6 separate regions of the Homo sapiens genome follow, and all the other regions are linked to region 4. The links are contacts of gene promoters, found by promoter capture Hi-C in blood cells and fetal thymus (Javierre and others, 2016). All regions are on one chromosome and are shown on one strand. The core of a region is centred on a gene start or on the middle of the fragment in contact, and the rest is flanking DNA. Distances in the headings are between cores, read along the strand shown.

Region 1 (3,483 bases), core at 555-3,054, 400 kb before region 4:
CACAGGAATAGAAGTAAGGGACCTGAGGTCCTGGGCTGTGTGACTGAACTGCTTTGTGACCTTGGGCAAGCTGCTGTGAGTGTTTCCTTAGTTATGAGATGGGAGGGGAGATGATCTTCCTCTCCCCTGTGGTTTGACCCTGCAGTTCCACGAGAAGCAGCTGTTGGCAGCTGTGGGGGCAGAACTGTCCTCCCAGTCCCCACGTGCCCTGGAAAGGCTCGGGTCTGATGCCTGGCCCATGGATAGTCCTGACCCCCAGCCCCAGCTTGGTCAGATCATTCCTGGGCTGGAGAGGAAGAGAGATTTTGACCAAATTAGTTTGCTTCTTACTGGCCTCTGGGATCCATGGGAAAACTCCTCTCAGAACAGAGATTGACTGCTGAAGAGTGAATGGGCGAGTTTCCAGCACAGCGTCTGTGCCATGCTCCCGAGCTGAGTTTAGTTTGTGTCAAAGCGCCTACTGTGTACTTTGTGGGGGATTGGCAGGTAGAAAATTTCACAAAACAGCCCTGCCCTCCAAGAGCACAGGAGAGTCAATATATAGAATATTTCCTTTAGGAAAGAGAAGATTTGCGAGGAAGCTGCCTTCTTCCAATATTTGGTGGTTCTTCCGTGGATGGGCACTGCATCTTGTTCATCTTTGTGTTCCCGGTGCTTGCTCTCAAGACTCATTATTCATTTAATCCTCATCCAGCACAAACGCACAACAGTGAACAAGCAGCACTGTCCCTTCCTTTCAGGAGACTACAGCCCACGGTGAGATTCCGGGAAGTAGACAGAACAGTGCAGGGCAGGACGAGCTGCAAGGGGGAGGATGCCAAGCTGTGCACACGGAAAGCACCTACTGTTACGGCCATGGCAACCTCAGCTGCTCCTGCCTGGGCTTCCTGGGGATTCCCCTGGGTCTCCTCCGGGCATAGGTCCACCCTGCAGAGACCCAGGGAGCCAGAGAGCCTGGCATATGTGGGGACCCTTCTCTGTGTATAGAGGAGGCTTGCCAGCCAGGCCCAGCCTCTGGCAGGAGAGACCCTGCAGAGTCCCCAGCCTGCAGGAACAGTGTGGTGGCAGGCAGCCTGAGGGAGACAGTCCATCCTTTGGCTCTCCTGGGCCCTAATATATTGAGACACAACCTGGCTTCTCCCTCTGTCCCAGAGGGAAAGCCTGGACCTGCCACCTCTCAAGGCAGGAATGTGCTTGTGTGGCCAGCCCACATCCATGTGGGAGCCCATGACTGCTCTGTGGGCCTGTTTCCCTGAGGACGGAGGTGATTTTCTGGGGTACTGAGGGGCAGGGAAGGGCAGCCTGCACCCATGGGTAAGAATGTCTGCTCTGACTCATGACACTCACTGTCTGACTGCTTCATCCTTCATCAATCAGAAACCACTTCCTAAGCACCAAGGATATGTCAGGCTCTGTGCTGTGTTCTCCCAATTCTCAAATTCCTTTTTCTTAACTGACTGTGAGATAAGTGTATTACTTTCATTTCACAGGTGGGAAAACTGAAGCCCAGAGCACCAAGGATAAAATCCTATTTGTTGGTGTTTACCATGTGCTGGATGCCATTGTGGGCACTTGTGTGGATCAGTGCATGAAATCATCATAGCTTATGAGGCGGTTTTCATTCCTGTCTCACTGATGATGAAACTCGCCCAGGGTCTCACAGCCACCTTGTAACAGAACTGGACTGGAGTTATCTTGGAGTCCTTTCCAGAGACCTCCGTGCCCTCAGAGCACTGCTGGTTAACCTCTGCCCCTCTTTGACTCCAGTGTGGGCCATGTGGGTGAGGACAAGGGCAATTAGAGGCAGTTAGTGTGGGAGACTTGATGGGTGGGTTTTCTAGAGGAAAGAGACCATTTTAGAGGCTAGGGTCCATTTTAAATTGCAGCAAAGGCCGGGCATGGTGGCTCACACCTGTAATCCCAGCACTTTGGAAAGCCAAGGTGGGCAGATCACCTGAAGTCAGGAGTTCGAGACCAGACTGGCCAACATTGTGAAACCGCATGTCTACTAAAAATACAAAAATTAGTTAGGCATGGTGGCGGGCACATGTAGTCCCAGCTACTTGGGAGGCTGAGGCAGCAGGAGAATTGCTTGAACCTGGGAGGTGGAGGTTGCAGTGAGCCAAGATCGTGCCACTGCACTCCAGCCTGGGTGACAGAGCGAGAATCTGTCTCAGAAATAAAATAAAATAAATTGCAGCTGGGGTAGACAAAGGACAAATAAATCATGTTGGATTTGACACATACCTTTCCTGCGCCCTGACAATTAGGCTTGAAGGAAACCTGTCAGGCAGTGCCAAAGCCTGTAATGGCTTAGAGCAGAGTTGGAGGAGTGGGGCAGGAGTGGCAACCCTGAAGGCACCTGGGAGTTGCTAATTGGGGGTGGTGATGACAGAGGAGATGGCACAGTTGCACTCTGAGCCGCTTGCCTGACAGAGGCTCTGGTGTCTGCTGGGGAGTAGGGCTGGATGGGAGAGGTGTAGAGGAAGATGTGCTTCTAAGAGGACTTGGACCTGTTCCTTCTGTCCCCACCCAGCCCTCCAGGCTTGTGGGCAGAAAGGCTGGGTGTGGACCTAAAGCCAAATCTTTTGAGGGTGGGGATGAGGGAATAGGCCACCTGCAAGCGTGGGGGCAGAGGGGGATGGGGGTGGCACCATTTCATTCCTGTGATAAATGCTTTTTGCTCTACAATGAACTTGGCCATTAGGATCGGCTGTACATGATTGCCTGAGTAGTCCTCCCTTGGGCAAAGCCTTTCACACTTTGGGACTCCCTTTAGCCGTCTGTGAAATGGGCTAAGCTCCGTTTTGGAAGTCGTGCTCTGCTGCCCACTGTATTTCTCCATGCTCGTGTCCTGGAGTGAACGCTGCAGTGATGGCAGCACAGAACCACTTATGATTCCTCTTGCTCATGCATGTTAAGAATTTGAGGCAACCTATGATGAGAGGCACATAGAAAGCAAACATAAAAGTGGAAGATCAAAAGCCAGATGCCCTCCAGAAGAGTATGATTTAGCAAATGTGTAATAAGGCCCGGGTGTCTCATTTATTTTTATTTATTTTTAATATTTTTGTGTTTAGAGCCAGGGTCTTGCTCTGTTGTCAGGCTGGAGTTCAGTGGCACCATCATAGCTCACTGCAGTCTCTTGTTCCTAAGCTGAAATGATCCTCCCACCTCAGCCTGCTGAGTAGCTGGGACTACAGGCACATGCCACCATGCCCAGCTAATTAAAACAATTTTGGGGGGCAGGGTAGAGATGGGATCTCACTGTGTTGCCCTGGCTGGTCTTCAACTCCTGGCCTCAAGTGATCCTCCTGTCTCAGCCTCACAAAGTGCTGGCATTATAGGTGTGAGCCACTGCATCTGGCTGTGCCTGAATTTTTAACCAGCTCCCCAAATGATTCTGATATGCCCCCAAGTTTGAGAATCCATGGTGCAAAGGAAGAAGGAGGAAATACACCCAACATCTAGGTCATCATAGTT
Region 2 (3,277 bases), core at 561-3,060, 440 kb after region 4:
GCTTTGCTTTTATAAATTCTAAGCCCTCCAGACAATTTATAGCAGGAAGTGCAATGCTGGCTGTTCATGGAATCACCTGGGGAGTTTTAAAAATACTGCCGCCTGGGTTCCACCCCTAAATACTCTAATTTAATTGACCTCAGCTGCTCCTTTGGTGATTCCAAAAAGCAAACAACTTTGGTATCACTGACTTAAAAGGTTCCTAGATATGGTAAGAGAGAATGAGATTTGCTGGAATGAATAGAGTATCTTGGAGAAGCAGTGAAAGAGGAGTGCTTTCCTGTTCCAATATAGAGAAAAATCCTTGATTTGTTACCCTGGAGTAGCAGAAACCTGGGTTCTGGCTTCCTGACGGCCCCAGCGGGGAGGTAGGAAGACTCCAGAGAGAATGGCAGTGTGATATATCTAGGCCAGTGCTTCTCACACAGGGATGTGCACAAGGATCACCATTGTTAAAATGCAGATTCTGACTCAGTAGTTCAGGGGTGGCGCCTGAGAGTCTCTATTTCCAAAAAGTTTGTAGGTGGCTGGTCCACAAAGTGGCAAGGATCTACATGGCTAGGACTACAGGCTGTCTCCTTTAAGATTCCCATATCCATTTCAAGCATAGAACAGGAGGAGCCGCAGCCTGTTAAAACTGAATGGTCCCACAGGCAGGGACAAAGGATGTTTCTGCGGTGATTTGGTTTGATTGATGACTGAGGAGCAGATGGACCCCAACTGCAACGCCTTCTAGGCTAAAAGAGGACCACATCCTGACAGGGGATCCTCGTGTCAGGGTCTTGGCAGATCACAGATGGCCACTCAGAAGGGATGACTGAAGAGAGTTTCATGAAGCATCCTCATGAATAACAGATAGATGGCAACTCTACAGTTGGCACTTTGGGGGCCATGGGTGTGGTCCTGTTGGAGAACTGGTAGGCAGAAAAGACACACACTTGCAGAAGTTGCTGCTGATTTCAGGAGTGTGTTGAGAATGAGCCACAAGCACTTTAATAACTGCCAATAGGTGGACAATGGAAGAGAAAAAAGAATGCAGTCTTGTTATAGTTTCCTGATGACACAGATTTCTCGAAGTGTCTCAGAAAAATACTTAGAAAGGGTATGAAAAGTTATCTTTAGGCCGGGCGCGGTGGCTCACGCCTGTAATCCCAACACTTTGGGAGGCCAAGGTGGGTGGACCACCTGAGGTCAGGCGTTCGAGACCAGCCTGGCCAACATGGTGAAACCCCGTCTCTACTAAAAATATAAAAATTAGCTTGGGCGTGGTGGCATATGCCCGTAGTCCCAGCTACTGGGGAGGCTGAGGCAGGAGAATTGCTTGAACCTGGGAGGTGGAGGTTGCAGTGAGCTGAGATCATGTCACTGCACTCCAGCCTGGGCGACGGAGTGAGACTCCATCTCAAAAAAAAAAAAAAAAAGAAAAGTTATCTTCAGTCTGGGCAACATGGCAAAACCCCGTCTCTACAAAATTTTTAAAAAATAAGTCAGGTGTGGTGGTACACATCTATGGTCCCAGCTACTCTGGAGGCTGATGAGATTGCTTGAGCCCAGGATGTGAAGGCGACAGTGAGCTGTTTCACACCACTGCACTCCAGTGTGGGCAACAGAGTGAGACCTTGACTCAGAAAAAGAAAAGTTATCTTTAGGACCTCCACCTCAAACTCTAAATTTTTTTTTTTTTTTTTTTTTTTGAGACGGAGTCTCATTCTGTTGCCCAGGCTGGAGTGCAGTGTCGCGATCTCAGCTCACTGAAACCTCCGCCTCCCGGGTTCAAATGATTCTTCTACCTCAGCCTCCTGAGTAGCTGGGATTACAGGCACACACCTTGATGTCTGGCTAATTTTTGTATTTTTAGTAAAGATGGGGTCTCACCATGTTGGCCAAGCTGGTCTTGAACTCCTGACCTCAAATCATCCATCCGCCTCGGCCTCCCAGAGTGCTGGGATTATAGGCATGAGCCACTGCGCCTGGCCTGAATTTCTTAAAAGCAAAACTAAACTAAACCCTTGATCATCTTTCTGGGAAAAGGGCATAGGCATTGAAAAACTTCAGTCCAGGGGAAAGCTGGGGATCTGATTTATTTAGAGCAGCACTTGGGGCCTGAAATTTAGCACTAGTTGGGTTCCCGGCTTAGCCTGTCCGAACACCTATGTGTTTTATCAGCACTAGAAGTTGGTAAAGGGAGGCTGGGCGCAGTGGCTCACACCTGTAATCCCAGCACTTTGGGAGGCCGAAGTGGGCGGATCACCTGAGGTCAGGAGTTTGAGACCAGCCTGGCCAACATGGTGAAACCTCGTCTCTACTAAAAGTACAAAAATTAGCTGGGCATGATGCGTGCACCTGTAGTCCCAGCTACTTGGGAGGCTGAGGCACAAGAATCACTTGAACCCAGGAGGCAGATGTTTCAGTGAGCCGAGATCGGGACCACTACACTCCAGCCTGGAATTCCATCTAAAAAAAAAAAGAATTTGGTAAAGGGAGATGGGAGTAGAGATGGCCCCCACACCCTTCTGAGGTGAAGGGAGCCAGTGCCAAATGGAAGGTTTCAGTGGCACCTACTTAGACCTGGCCAGCTAGAATGGATGGAAAGTTCTCAGGGCAGTAAATAGGATTTTGACTGGTGCTCTACAGTTCTTTGGAAAGCCAGGTGGGAGCTCCTTCTGCAGGATCCCTGAGAGCAGGGTGCCAAGTGTAAAGGGACTCCAGGGCCCTCCATCTGCCATCAGTGCAGGGGCCTGAAAACATTTTAGGAGAAACTGAGCTTTGGAGGAGGAGGCAGAGTTGTAATTAGAGTCCAGGTCTTCTTGACCTGGAAAATTTTATTTCTCAGGCTGCCTGTGAGTGTCTGAGAGGCTGGAGGATTTTGACACTACACCGGGCATTAGTTAACAAGAACTGAAGCCATAACTAGGCCTAATAATCAGAAATTGTTCTGAGACCTATGATACATGAAGTGCCAAAATAAATTCCAACTTAATTAAAAAGTTAAAGAATAAATATCACAAGAGAATTAGAAGAAAGCAACGGCAAATATTCAGTTAATCCTACAGTGACCAAGTCCTCTCTAAACACAATAGCAAAAGGGAAAAAAGCAATAAATTTGAAATATGTATGTGTGTGTGTGAATATATAACATTAAAAACTTCTGCATGATTAAAACAAATTATCAAAAAATAAAATTAGGCAGGGCACAGTGTGTCACAGTGTAATCCCAGCATTCTGAGAGGCAGAGGCAGGAGGATTGCTTGAGGCTGGGAGTTTGATGCTGCACTCC
Region 3 (3,393 bases), core at 636-3,135, 290 kb after region 4:
CTTCACCGGACTCCAATCCTTAGCCACTATTATACAAACATTCTTTAAATTCACCATTTTACAATTAGGAGATTTTGCAAAGCAAGCTTCCAGGATCTTTGAGGATTCCCCCGGCTTGGTTTAAGATACCTCAAGGAAATGCTCTGAACCAAACTACTCCTAAACACACAGATATGAAATAAGCCTTAGGAGTTTTAAATCAGATAAAGAATTTCTCTTTGAAAAAAGTCTCTGAACTGATCAGTCATAAACAACAGAATGTACATCCAAGTTTCATAAGGAGACAAAACACGGTAGTAACATACTGAAGGATACACCATTCCACAGAACAGGAAACACAGGAAATGAGGAGTGCCAGACAATCTTTTTATTGTTCACTGAAAAATGCAGGTCTGCAAAGAGTCAATTGCATTGTATATTGAATGCAAGGTCTGATATTGCAAGTATATATGACATGGTATAACATATAAAATATTACATATTTTACACAGTGACAGTACCCGCCTCTTCTAAACACTAAAATTTAATAGAATGAAGTAAAAAGCCTATTAAATAAGAAACAAACACTGCAATCATAAACAAAATGCACTAAGCAAAATACTTTAAAATTGTTGTGTGTGACATCTATCTTGTCTACCTGGAGTTAGGAATGGTGGAGCCCAGAAAAAAACTGAGCTAACAAAAACAGCCAACACCCTCCAGGAACTCTTCCCTGGAATCAGGCCGCTGGTGCCCGTCACAGGCTGCCCCCATCTGATGACCCAGCCAGGCTTCAGGGCTGCCTGAGGGCCCACACTGAATGCTAACGCCTGTCTGGGGCTGGGCTGAGGTGAATGGGAGGAGTACCAGGTAGGAAGAAGCTTCTCTCCCAACTGCTTATTCTGCATCCATGCTATGGATATGAACACCTAGTGTTTCTGGTGTGAATCTGCCACTCTCCACAAACATTGAAATGTGATTGAGAAGAAAATGTTAACGCTGGGAACAAAAGCCATTTTCTACGCAGTCTGCAGATATCATCATTAATTCCTTTCATCCATGTTTTCATTAAGATGCTCTAAAAGAGGCTGCTGCTATTATACAGCCAGTCAGGCAAGCCAGGATAGAGGTAACAAAATTTCTCCAGTTATAACTAGTAATTCAAATGAATCAAAAATAAATATAGCTTATACTAGAGAGCAACACAGTCTCTATTATTCACATGGTAATATATTCAAGAATTGCAACAATATTCACAATTCTCTAAGGTCAACATATTTCCCTCCAAGCAGAAAATCCTGAATGGAAGGGAGTGTATAACATCAATAACTCCTGTTTGTCTCACATAATATCAGGGCTCAGAAAGCTCATTATAGATAACAAATGCAAAATAAAAAAAAAAAAGCATTTCAATATATGTACAGCAACAGAGGAAGACTAGGCCCTCCCTCTGGGCCTCCTTGGCATAAGGCAAAGCATGGCTATTTGCGACAACAGTGTCTAAGCTGACTCTGGAAAGGCTCATGTTTTACGATAAATCAGAATTACAAAGTTCCTTCATTCACAGGTAACAAAGGATTATTAAATAATTTCCTGAACTAAGACAACAGTCTCACCATCAAAGAAAATTTTCTTCTCATCTGAGTTTTTATAAATGAGATTTTACAATACCCAGCTTTTTTAGTTAATATGAAACCATCGGCGTACAGAGAACATCCTCAAAGCTCAAGATGAGTAAAGCTAATATTCTCAGACTTTCCACACTCTACAGAGCAGCAAATATTTTATCAGAATATCCATTTAACACAGTTTTAAGTCCATAATAACCAACTATGTATTTTTCTTATTCAAAGAAGACCATGTTTTGATAAGAATAATCCCAGTTTGATGAGTATCCTATTCCCCTTGATGTTGTACAATAAATGTCACTGTTGAGTCTCTATATCCTTGACTCTTCCAGTCAAAGGAAAATCCTGTATAAAGCTGGAAAACTGCAAACTCCAGCGGAAGCACTAGTGTTAGTGCTGAAGTAAACTTTAGGGGAATAACCACAGTCGCTTATCAGACTGTTTACAGCATTGATAGAAGCCCTCCTCTTCTTTTATCTCTATTATCTCTATTTTATCTCTAAACATTCTAATATTTTAAACATGGGGGTTCACTGATATCGATAAAGGTCTAGTTCATGAGTAAGGTTTTGGTCTCTGGAATGATGTGTGGCTAGCCCAAAACACTGGCTATGTTAGCTTTAAACATGATCATTCTTCTTCCCACCACAATCTGTCAAACCCGCCCATCCGTCCTGCCACTGTCACTCCCCCAGCCCCTCAGGATTGCTGCTCCTCTCTTCTGAATGTTCTACTGCATGTATGGTATTCACTGAGACATCACTTTAATGTATAGGTCATTTGCATTTCATGCCACCAGCTCCCCAAAAGACATCAACTGGGAACAATTTCTAATAGTAAAGGCACGATTTGCCAGAATTTTCCCTTTATAAAGGAAATCAAAGGACCTGTCTGGAAGCTGAAAGAACACCTTGGGTATTCCTGTAAAGGGAACGCTGTATCTGCTACCAAAACCCAGAGACACTGACTAGATCTAAAGAGCATATGGATTATGCAATAGTGTGAGATTTGGCAGTTTAAGATCTATTTCCAATATTACATTAAGCCATTTGGGTGAAAGTGTTGTTAGTATCACAGGAGCAAATGAAAAGTGTCAATGACACCCTTTTGGCTCATTTCCTTGTGCTTCTGGTTATACTTCCACCAGCTCCAGTGAAGCCTGTCCCAGGGCACATCACTCAGCTCCCCGCACAGCTGCTCAGAGAGAAAACAATGCACTTCACCTCAACTAGTCCAGCAACTGGCACTCAGATGGTGAACGCTGCAGCCAACGGCCTTGGGGCAGAGCCCATGGAAAGCTTTAAACAGGCTTATAGACATTGCATAAAAATTCCTGATTTTAAAATACCTTCCCAAGGAAGTCACAAAACAATCATTTTTAGTTAATAAAATGTAATCTATACTCAAAAACAATGTAATGCCTCAGAAAGCAAAACCTGGAATGGAAGCACTTCAGAAAAATACGGCTTAATCAGTATCTTACTTTGGCTAAGTTACCACAGTCAGCGTAATTTATTATTGCATTTAGAAGCCCAACCTACCGTGTTCTCCTAAGATGGTGAAGTACACGCAAACAGTGAGCAGGGGTGATAGCCCTTTAGCCTTTTGTGACTTCAGAACTTAGGAAGATAAAAGATAACCAGGATTTGACATTCAGATACTTACTTGCTCAGCACGAGTTGAGTTAGGAGACAGCTAAAGACCAGATTCTCATCCACTTAAGGTGTTCTCAGGAAGCTCCTATTTGGATACCAAACCAGTGGGTCTCAACATGGCTGCACATCAG
Region 4 (3,527 bases), core at 258-2,757:
ATGTTGTGCCATTCGCCTCCCCCCAACCCCCACCCATGTCACTCTAGTCTAATTCCTGGGCCTTGTTAAGCCCATCAAAATAGCCTTGTCCAGTCGGGGCCCAACCCCAAGTCCATCTTCTGTTTTCTTCCTACCAGCTCAAAAGAAAGGTGGGGTCACTACGCTGTTTCCTTCCACTCCTGTCGTGCTGCCAGCAAATAGCAGCTATGAACTTGGGTGGCAGTAAACTGGCTGAGTCTAGTTTTCCATGAACAGCCAGGGCCAGTTTGTTATATGATCAAGGGGGTGTTTTTCCTCAAAGGCAGCACGGGACTGGCAGAAGCTCAGTGAGAGGCTGGTTGAATAGCTCTGTGTTCTTGCCTGGGCCGCTCTGCCCATGAGGCTGGGACCATGGAGGGAGCCTGGCCTGGTGGTTCAGTGTCTATGTCTGTGTCTGGGGTGGGGGTTAGCAGATAAACACAAGATGTATTTGGGACATACTTACACTAAAATATTATTCACTGTTTATCTGAAATTCATATTTAACTGGGCAGCCTATATATTTGCTAAAATCTGGCAACCCTAGACTGGGCAAATCATACCACCTCGTGGAGCATCAGTTTGCTAATTTGAAAAATTAGGCTAAGCCACCCTCCTTAGGAATACTGTGTAAATCAGTAATTCATCTACTCCTGGAGTCTGGTTTGGCTCAGCTGACCTGAGCACCCTGGCTTCTCCACCTCTGGCTCCCCACCCTCTCTTTCCTCCGTAGTTTCCCAGGCCTTGAGGGCTGCTTGCTAGGCCTAATGGAGGGGTGAGCTGATTGCTGCATCTGGAAGCCTTTTCCCAGAGCCTGACCTTGAAAATCCAGGCCCAGCTGGACCCACCCAGCACTTAATGACTACCAGTACGGAGGCCCCACTTCTTGGTGTTTGCATGAAGCAGCCCAGGACCTGTGAGGCTAAGAGGAGGATTAGCAATTGTTTCCCTCATGATTTTATTGTCTCCTGGGGACCCTGCTTTGGGCGGTCTGGATGTCTGCCTTGGGCCTAGTTTGAGGCGCCCCGAAGGTGGAGCCATCTTGGTCTCGTAATTTGCTCTTCCCTGCCCCCCAAGAGGGAAGCCAGAGCTAGCGGGGCCAGCACTGCTCAGGAGGCAAGGTGGCCTACCTGTCGCACACCCGGAGGAGGAAATCATTGACCAGGCTCTCGTGCCGGCTGCAGATGCTTCTCTGGAAGGCACTCTTGAGCCAGTCCTCAATGCTGCACACCTGCACGCGGCTGGAGTGCCAGCAGATGGAGAGGCTGCGGAGTGCCGGGCCCAGGAGGAAGTTGTCCTTCTGGAGTTCAGTGAGGGAACGGAAGTGCAGCAGGGACCAGAGTGCGGGGTCCTCAAACACGTCGTGGAGCTGGGAGCAGGTCCTGGCAAGGCTCTTCCTGCTGTCCTTGTCTAGGAAGGAGAAGAGGTGCAGCAGGCACTCCCGGTTGAGCTGGGTTATGTGCATGGTGAGCAGTGGCCACATGTGAGTGCAGCTGCAGCCGGGGGACGGCTGACCTGCCTCCTCTCCTCCTCCCCGACTCTGGGCCGGTGGACATATATGGTTGAGGAATGGTGTTTATTTTTGGCTAACAACTGGTGCTGAAGCTCTGCGGAGGGGTGAGGGAAGAAAAGCCAGGACCCAGACACATGTGCGGCAGTCTGTGGTTCGGCTTATGTTCAGAGGGATTGGAGGTCCTGGCAGAAAAGGAGCCTATTGAAGTTACTTTCCTTAAAAGGGATTTTTTTTTTCCCTTTAGCTGACAATGGTGTTTAGCAGTGAGCACTTTTGGCTTTTCCCAAGGCGTTTTCATTGGCAGTGGTGGCGGCCAGGCCAGCTCTGTCTGGCTTTGCAGTCTGTACTTAGGGGGAAGGAGTGTAATTGTAAATGTTAACTGTTTTGATTTTCTAGTACATCAGTGTGAATCTTTTGCTCCACCCTTACTAGGAAGAAACCTGTTGCGTGTGGAGAGCTAAGGGTGACGGTTGTGAGTTGTGAGCAGAGTCCATGGCTGCTGCCTCATTCCTGTTATTTTTGTGCCATAGAGTAATTGTCTCCAGGCTAGGCTGGTTGGCCTTCAAGCCCTGCTGCCTGCCACTAGGCAGGGGGATTTTCCTGGGCCTCCCCAACAGCTAGATTTTTACCCTGAGTTGTTTCATAAAAGAATTTTACTGAAGTAGCTGCTTTCCAAAGTTGTGTGTCTGTGTTTTATGTTTTATTGGTGCTTTGTTGTTGTTGTTGTTGTTTTTGTAGTTTTGGTCAAGCAGTACTTTCTGTGTTTTAAATTTAAATTTACTTGGCTTTACATTTTCTCACTGATAAGGCCTTGTACTATGTATAACCTGTACTTCCCAAAATGTCAGGATGGATGAGGTAGCTCTTAATGTGAAACTGCTTGAAACAATTTTAAGTTCAGTATTTTAGTCCATCTTTGCCTTTAAGTTGACCACACACCATCCATTCTATGAGTGCCCTCCGTTCCCTCTTGGAGAAGCCAGTGGGCCACCCCTGCCCTCTCTGACTCAACTCTAGGCAAGGTGCCTGGAGGTACTATCCGTGAAGCTCCCCCTTCCTGAGTACCCGAGGCTTCACGATATGGCAGACCCGTTTCCTCATGCTGCTTCACTCCCAAACCCAGGACCCAACCTTAACTCTCCTGCTTTGAATCCCAGTCGTTGTTTTTTGGTTTGCTTGGGGGATGCTGATATGGTGCAGCTGTATAGGCCACGTTCTGCCTAGGCAATAGTGAGAAGAGAATGGTTTTTCCTCTGCCAGCCCAGGGACCACCACCTCAGTGGTTACTTCTGTTTGTTCTCCCATTTGGAATAAGAGGGAATGGGAATCCTTGTGTTTTCCCATAGACACAAATGAAGCAGCCTATGCTGAACCCACTTCTGGAACTAAGGTTTGGTCAGGGCTGGTGCAGCTTTGCCTTTAAAGCAGAAGGCAGTCAAGCAAAGAAGGAAGTAGCCATTGTCAGTGGCTTTCCTGAGAAGCCAGCCTCAGCTGGTGCCCCTGTGCCTCCATTACTCCACCATGCCAAGATGAAGTACAGTAGGGGGTTCTCTTAAAAACAAACCAAGGAGGTCGAAAGGAAGCATTTCCCAAGGAAGGGGAGCAAGATACTGCTGCTATTTCAAGCTCATCAATGTAGTTCTGAATTATAGCTGACACCCTAATTTAGGCTCTGTCTAGGTGTACTTCTCCACTTAAAATGGATGCTGCAAAACCACAGGTGGTGTTATTAGAAAGCCACATTATCTCCACTTTCCCTCCCCAATCCTCCTCAAACCAATGCTTTTCAGAGGGTTTGACCCTTAGGAATAGGTGGTTCTTTCCACTTCTTGCAAGGCCAGAGTGGTACTTGTGCCTTCCACTGAGTAAGTGTCACTGTGCTTCAGCATGGCTTCCAAGTTGCACTACTGCAGCCCAGCTGGAATGGCAAAAGATTGGCAGGGAGAACATTTAGAGCATTGCCCCTCTGCTGTTCCTCCAGGTAGGCTGCAGGAAG
Region 5 (3,346 bases), core at 407-2,906, 470 kb before region 4:
TTCGTGTCAAATATCTACTGTGCCCAAATGTACTCAATTTAAATCATTACTCTGTAAAATAAATAAGCAGATGATTCTTATAATGACTCACTGTTTTTATTGAATTGTAAATTCCAGTGTAAATGTCAACTCCTAAAGGATATCTTCAAAGCTTTATTTTTGCTGATTATTTTGTAGAATCAGAGATCTGAGAACCAAAAGGAACCCTTAAGATTGGGCCTTCCTTCCTTCCAAGGAGAGTCCTGGACCCTTTCATAGATAAGGAACAAATGTGGAGAAGGCTAGATGGCATACACAATTTTGAAGATCAAGAAGTCCACCAAAGAAGTTTTGATTAAACCAACCTAAATGTATGGTCCGCACTTTATCTGTCCTTCATTTGGTTTGTTTTAGGGGTTAATGGTCATGTGAAGTATAGTAGCCTCCAACATGGCCCCCAAGATCCTCACTTCCTGGTATTCATGCCCTTGTATAGTTAACTTCCATATTGAATTGGAGCTGATGGGTGTGGCTAATAAAGAATGGCAGAGTGACAATGGGTGACTTCTGAGGCTAGATCATAAAAGGTATTGCTGTTTTCACCTTAGGCTCTTGGATTGCTTATTCTGTAGGAATCCAGCTGCTATGTCACGAGAACTCAAGCCACCCTGTGGAGAATTCCACACGGAGTGCAGCTGAGGCCTCCCAACAACAACCAGCAGCAATTTGCAAACCATGTGAGTGAACTCCTGATGCAGAACTGCCTAGCTCCCAAAGTCTGGACCCAGGCACTGTCTTGGGTGCCAAGGACACAAAGATACATCAGCCATTGTCTGTCCTCCTGGAGTTCATACTTATTAGCCTGGACCTTCAGCTTCTCTCTGCTCCAGGCAGTGAGTGATTCGGACTCAGTTTTATCTACTGCCTGAGCTCGTCCTGGCCAAGTAGAAACAGAAGCCGGGCAGCAGGTCCAAAGACAAAACCATGCCTTAGGGACTGTCTGGTGAGGACACTACTGACATGCAACTCCAAGTGGATCATTGCTACAGGAGTCACCTGAACTGCTGGCCCTGCTGCTCCTGGAAGCTAGATGTGACTTCTGTTGTCTCCGCTACTGCCAGAGTGATTTCTCATTTTTGTGTGACTCACTCCAGCTTCCTAGTCCTAGCTGAGATCTCTAGTCGGCTGATCTCAAGTCACATGTCCATGTCCTGGCTGCCAAGAAGGCGGGAGAAAAGAAAATCTGACCTTTGGTGTGGGGAGGTGGACTCTGTCCCCCCAGCAAGACTCACATGGTGGGAATTCTATAGTAGAGTGAGAGGGGTCAAAAAACTAACATCTACTGCATTAATTATATTAGAACATGAATTTAAACTTTATTAATCATAATGGTATCTACATAGAAGTGAAAAATAGAGGTACATATATAGTCAGAAGTAGTGTTATCTGGTCCATGTTTGGCAAGGGTTAGGAAACGTTTTTGGAAAAGGGCCACATAGGCAATATTTTAGGCTTTTCAAGCCATATGCTCTGTTGTAACTATTCAACTCTGCCCTTGTAGCACAAAAGCAGCTGATAGTCTGTAAACAAATAAGCATGATTGCACTCCAAGAAAACTTTATGGACACAAATTTGAATTTCATATAATTTTCATGTGTCATGAATTAATATTTTCCTTTTTAATTTTTTCAACCGTTTAAAAATATAAAAACCATCTTAGCTTGTGGGTTGTACAAAATTCCAGCATTGGGCTGGATTTGGCCTGTGTGCCATTAGCAAACTCCTGATTTACAAGAATGATTATCCTTTCTGAAAAGTCAGACCAATTGGAAAATCAGATAAAAGATGTGGAATGGGCCCTCTCCCTAGGGAGAAAAAGGCACTCACATGAAACTGCATGTGACTCCAGGACATTCACAGACTTGCTAAGGAGCCAGTGGACCCCGGGTTAATAACTCTGCTTTACAAGTAATGCTAGCTGAGCACTGGGCTCCCCCCTCCTTTAATAACCCCCCAGAGCCCTGAGGGTTCACAACTTTGGGAGTATAGGGGCAGAAGGTGTGATACCTTTCCTCACCCATCATAAAGGTCATGGCCAACACCCCCGTGACAAAAGACAGGGTAACAAGAGAAAAGCATAACAAATGTGGTCAATCCAAGTTTTATGTGACACAGCAGGCTTCAGATAGGAAGAATCCAAAGACCCAGGGAAAACTGTCTTATTTTTCTGCTTAGGTTTGACGAAGAGTGGACAATTGTGTAGAAATGTGATTGGACAAAAAGTGCGATCTAATGGTAATGGACTAAGTGGGGAAACCCAGCAAGGACTATCTCTTCAGATTCTTCTTGGCCTTTCTGTGTAGCATTCCTTCCTCCTGGGTATGGGGCAGTCTTATGACCTACTGTTAGATAAGGCAGGTCAGAGAATTTCTTTATGGCCAGCTCATGCACAGAAAGGCGGGGGAAAGTTAGAGTAATATTTCTAGGTTTTGTGGTTTGCTTTTTGTTGTTGTTACTGTTTTTGTTTTTGAGATGGTCTTGCTCTGTTGCCCAGGCTGGAGTGCAGTGGCACAATCATGGCTCACTGCAGCCTCAACCTCTCAGGCTCAAGTGATCCTCCCACCCCAACTTCCCAAGTAGCTGGGACCACAGGTGCATACCACCATGCCCAGCTAAATTTTTTTTTGTATTTTTTTGTAGAGATGGGACTTTGCCATGTTTCCCAGACTGGTATGGCTTGCTTTGAAAAGAGGTTCTGGTTTCTATTTCCTCCCTTGGGGAAGACAGATTCTGTTTTCTATGACTCCCTTTGGAGGAGGAAGGGGCAGGAGACAGCAGGGCAGGATATGGTCAGAGAGAGTCTTTGCTTTTGAGGCTGCTTCTGAGGCTTTCTATTCTTCTTTAATTCACAGCACACCAAGGAGCCATATTTTGGGTTATTGCTTTCTGAGCCCCAGTAGGAGCCACTACCTTCTTGTTTTTGCTTTTGAGACAGGGTCGCTCTCTGTCGCCCCTGCTGGAGTGAAAAGGCACCATCAGGGCTCACTGCAGCCTCAAACTACTGGGCTCAAGCAATTGTCCCACCTCAGCCTCCCAAGAAGCTGGGACTACAGATGAGAGCTACCACGCTCAACTAATTATTTATCCACTGCTTTCTTAGACCGTTACAAATAAGAAGCTTATGGCCGGGCGTGGTGGCTTAGGTTGGGTGCAGCGGCTCACGCCTGTAATCCAAGCACTCTGGGAGCCGAGGCGGGTGGATCACGAGGTCAGGAGTTCAAGACCAGCCTGGCCAAGATGGTGAAACCCCATCTCTACTAAAAATACAAAAATTAGCTGGACATGGTGTCACGTGCCTGTAATCCCA
Region 6 (3,472 bases), core at 904-3,403, 380 kb after region 4:
TTAGAAGCAAGAGAACCCACTCTGGTCAAATCCACTGTCAGATGGAAAAGCTTTGTGAAGTGTTAGAAACGGTTGGGCATGGTGGCTCACGCCTGTAATCCTAGCACTTTGAGAAGCCGTGGTGGATGGCTTCTCGGCCTTTTGGCTAAGATCAAGTGAGAAGCCGTGGTGGGCAGATCACCTGAGGACAAGAGTTCAAGACCAGCCTGGCCAACATGGTGAAACCCCGTCTCTACTGAAAATACAAAAATTAGCCAGGCACGGTGGCACCTGCCTGTAATCCCAGCTACCCGGGAGGCTGAGGCAGGAGAATCGCTGCAACCTGGGAGGCGGAGGCTACAGTGAGCCGAGATCATGGCCCTGCACTCCAGCATGGGTAGCAGAGTGAGACTCCGTCTCAAAAAAAAAAAAAAAAAAAAAAAGAAAGAAACTGAGCGTACCCATTTCCAAGGAATTCAACACTGTTGAATTCTTTTTCAAACTTAAACTCCTAGATAACTACATTAGATCCTTTACCTCCCACACTGTAATACCTTGAAAGGAATAGCCAATCAGAATTTTTAAACACTGGAAATTTCTACATTTTACACGTTGGTATAGCAAACGAAACCACTTTTTTTTTTCCCCTGAGACAGAGTCTCGCTCTGTCACCCAGGCTGGAGTGCAGTGGCACAATCTTGGCTCACCACAACCTCCACCTCCCAGGTTCAAGCAATTCTCCTGCCTCAGCCTCCCGAGTAGCTGGGATTACAGACACATGCCACAACGCCCAGCTAATTTTTGTATTTTTATTAGAGTAGGGGTTTCACCATGTTGCCCAGGCTGGTCTCGAACTCCTGACCTCGTGATCTGCCCGCCTCTGCCTCCCAAAGTGCTGGGATTACAGGCGTGAGCCACCGCGCCTGGCCTGGAAACCACTTTTGTTTTGTTCTTGAGAGCAGATATAAGCGATGGAAATAAATGGAAAATGTAGAAAATTATTTGGAAGACAGAATTTACTCATTTTAAGTTTCAACACTCATATAAACAAAAGCAGTTGGAAAGAACTCATGTAGGAATTCCCCATAACCAGAAGGAAGATTGTTTTGTTTTGGGTTTTTTTTTAAGTGTCCATATTACAACTTAAATTTACAACTTAAGCTTTTATCATTATTTTAAAAATGAAAGTGGTATCATCTATAGTCATAAATGCACAGCCTACTGAATTTAAAAGAGGAGCACATTCCAGTTTTAGGCATAAGTACAGTAACTAAATAGACTTGAACAAGAAATTCTTTATCCAGTACAGATTTTCTGAGCATTTGGCACTATACAGAAAACCATGATTTACTAAGCACCAATCAACTGACCTAAGTTACATTATAACAGCACCCCTAGCCTATCCTCTGCTTTGCCCCACGTCCCCCTCCAAACATATCCACCTGAAATAGTACCTAGAAGACATTTGTCCTTATCAGATTTTATTTGAAGGAAGAAGTCAGAAAGGAATTATCTAGTAATAACTTAGTTACAATTTCAGGTACCAGCAGAGAAGCCAAAAAATGAAAATTAATCTGTGTACAAGCTGAAATTGTCCCTAGTTCTGAAAAGAGAATAGTCAGAACCTAGAGAGTTCCTTTTTGATTCCAAAGAGGGAAGGAAGGGAGGAAAGAAGGGAGGAAGAGAGGGAGGGAGGGAAGACTTAGACACTAAAACATGCTTTAGGCCTCTGCCAAAGCCTTATAAAAAACTAAGACAAACCTCATAGTTAACTACTGACAGTGGCATGTGCTTTTAATTCTATTCTGAAAATGTGCATGCAAGCAAGGCAAAATTATATCATGGTTCTCATTTACATTTATCATTGCCTCACTATGGGAATATATAATCACATACGGACATCTGTGGATGATTATATACAAAGACGGGCCTTTCAAGATCAAGTTTAAGAGTTCTAGTGTCTTTCTATTCATACACCAATCATGAAGCAATTCACTAGAGCTGTTTTAGGGAATACGGAAATATTTGGGGAAGTCCAGAGGCTGTCTCCTCATCACGTACAAAAATTTTGTAATAATTTCCTTCACCTCCCCCTCTTCCCACAGTAAAGCTCAGCAGTGACATTTCCTTTCCCCTATCTAGTTATATGAATCACTTTTTACTTTACTACATTTTTAGGGATTCTGTGTTTTTACCTTGAATCAAAAGTGATGCCAAATTATCACTAATACATCTTGACTCTTCTGATCCCCAATCAGAATTTCCCCTCCCCTAATTGAAAGTGACATTTTCTAGTACAAAAATTTTCACGCAAAATGAGGTTAGACTAGAATAAATATGAGTCAGATGAACATGAACTGAAACAGAAAAATGTGCTGGTGCAATCCCTCCCTTAACAACTTTATCTCACAACCCCGGATGTTTAAAAATGATAAACATGGTGACCTATCCAAGAACAACCTGGATATCAAGTTTTCGTTGTTTGTTTTTTGCTGCGAACTAGTTCAGCATGCTCTGCTTGTTATACATCAAGGATGCCTCTACATCAATTCAGGAGGAAAGACTACAACGCACTGTGTAGGAAGATGGGGCTTTTAGGCCAGGCACTGTGGCTCATGACTGTAATCCCAGCGCTTTGGGATGCTGAGGCAGGAGGACTGCTTGAGCCCAGGAGTTCAAGACCAGCCCAGGCAACATAGAGAGACTCCCTCTCTTAAAAAATTAAATAAAATGAGCTGGGCATGGTGGGACACACCTGTAGTCCCAGCTACTTGGGAAGCTGAGGTGGGAGAATCACCTGAGCCTGGGAAGTTGAGGCTGCAGTGAGCCATGATTGCGCCACTGCACTCCAGCCTAAATGACAGAGTGAAATCCTGTCTCTAAAAAAAAGAAAAAAACACAGGGCTCTTCATGTTGTTGAATGATCAACTAGGGGCAACTCCCCTTCAGCCATGACAGTTATGAGATGTCTATCAATATCTATCATGACCAGTCACTAGTTGCAATTGACTAGTGTCAGTCAATATATGACAATACTAAGAAAAATGCGGTGCTTGGCAAAAAAAATCCACCAAAACTATGACTGGATTTAACTGGAAGTTAATTTTGAACTCTACCACACTACCTGTACTTTTAAGAAGATACATTTAAAGAAAGTAAATACTAAACACAGTATCAGGAAGCTTTATAAAGGAAATATCAAACTATGGCTCTCTCTAAAGTCTTGCGTAAACATTCTTTCCTATTCTAATGGCCATCAAAGTTAAGGATATAATAGGGTTAAACCAGAATCTCAATGAGAGAGATGGTGAACACATATAGTCTGGGGTAGAACACAGTTATAATATCACAGTACGTGAGACAATAATCTCCCAACCTCCCAACTCAGAAAGGGACAAGAATTCACTCAATCTGGCTGTAGTTTCAGGAACATCTGTGAAGCATTTCCCAGTATTCTCAGTAATTTCTATACTTCCGATCTACAAAGGATATT

What was found. The method cuts DNA at HindIII sites, captures the fragments that hold promoters and counts their contacts. A CHiCAGO score of 5 or more calls a contact.
Region 1: a fragment that was not itself captured here is called in contact with the fragment with the promoter of FBXL22 in region 4 in 1 of 17 cell types (naive CD8 T cells); the score reaches 5.3 in naive CD8 T cells.
Region 2: a contact is called between a fragment that was not itself captured here and the fragment with the promoter of FBXL22 in region 4, in 1 of 17 cell types (M2 macrophages). The highest score is 5.3, in M2 macrophages.
Region 3: a contact is called between a fragment that was not itself captured here and the fragment with the promoter of FBXL22 in region 4, in 3 of 17 cell types (M0 macrophages, M1 macrophages and M2 macrophages). The highest score is 7.0, in M0 macrophages.
Region 5: a contact is called between a fragment that was not itself captured here and the fragment with the promoter of FBXL22 in region 4, in 13 of 17 cell types (naive CD8 T cells, naive CD4 T cells, non-activated CD4 T cells and 10 more). The highest score is 14.8, in naive CD8 T cells.
Region 6: a contact is called between a fragment that was not itself captured here and the fragment with the promoter of FBXL22 in region 4, in 1 of 17 cell types (neutrophils). The highest score is 5.4, in neutrophils.

The regions. Positions count from the first base shown.
Region 1 is chr15:63,996,038-63,999,520 of GRCh38, reverse strand. All of the region lies in intron 2 of DAPK2 (death associated protein kinase 2), which reads left to right. Among named protein-coding and RNA genes, the nearest start is that of DAPK2, 49 kb to the left of the region's middle. RefSeq lists an enhancer at 940-1,441. The HindIII fragment of the contact is 7,981 bases long and covers 1-3,483 here.
Region 2 is chr15:63,160,834-63,164,110 of GRCh38, reverse strand. No RefSeq gene overlaps it. Among named protein-coding and RNA genes, the nearest start is that of RPS27L, 5.0 kb to the right of the region's middle. The HindIII fragment of the contact is 3,798 bases long and covers 1-3,277 here.
Region 3 is chr15:63,306,079-63,309,471 of GRCh38, reverse strand. APH1B (aph-1B gamma-secretase subunit) reads right to left here. Exons shown (of 6, transcript NM_031301.4): 6 at 346-3,393. Among named protein-coding and RNA genes, the nearest start is that of APH1B, 30 kb to the right of the region's middle. The HindIII fragment of the contact is 2,045 bases long and covers 863-2,907 here.
Region 4 is chr15:63,595,367-63,598,893 of GRCh38, reverse strand. FBXL22 (F-box and leucine rich repeat protein 22) reads right to left here and starts at 1,507. Exons shown (of 2, transcript NM_001367807.1): 1 at 1,149-1,507. The coding sequence starts at 1,501. All of the region lies in intron 1 of USP3-AS1 (USP3 antisense RNA 1), which reads left to right. The HindIII fragment of the contact is 9,685 bases long and covers 1-3,527 here.
Region 5 is chr15:64,069,299-64,072,644 of GRCh38, reverse strand. It overlaps CIAO2A (cytosolic iron-sulfur assembly component 2A), which reads left to right. Exons shown (of 5, transcript NM_032231.7): 5 at 1-80. Among named protein-coding and RNA genes, the nearest start is that of CIAO2A, 23 kb to the left of the region's middle. The HindIII fragment of the contact is 3,006 bases long and covers 154-3,159 here.
Region 6 is chr15:63,211,237-63,214,708 of GRCh38, reverse strand. All of the region lies in intron 1 of RAB8B (RAB8B, member RAS oncogene family), which reads right to left. Among named protein-coding and RNA genes, the nearest start is that of RAB8B, 23 kb to the right of the region's middle. The HindIII fragment of the contact is 2,021 bases long and covers 1,143-3,163 here.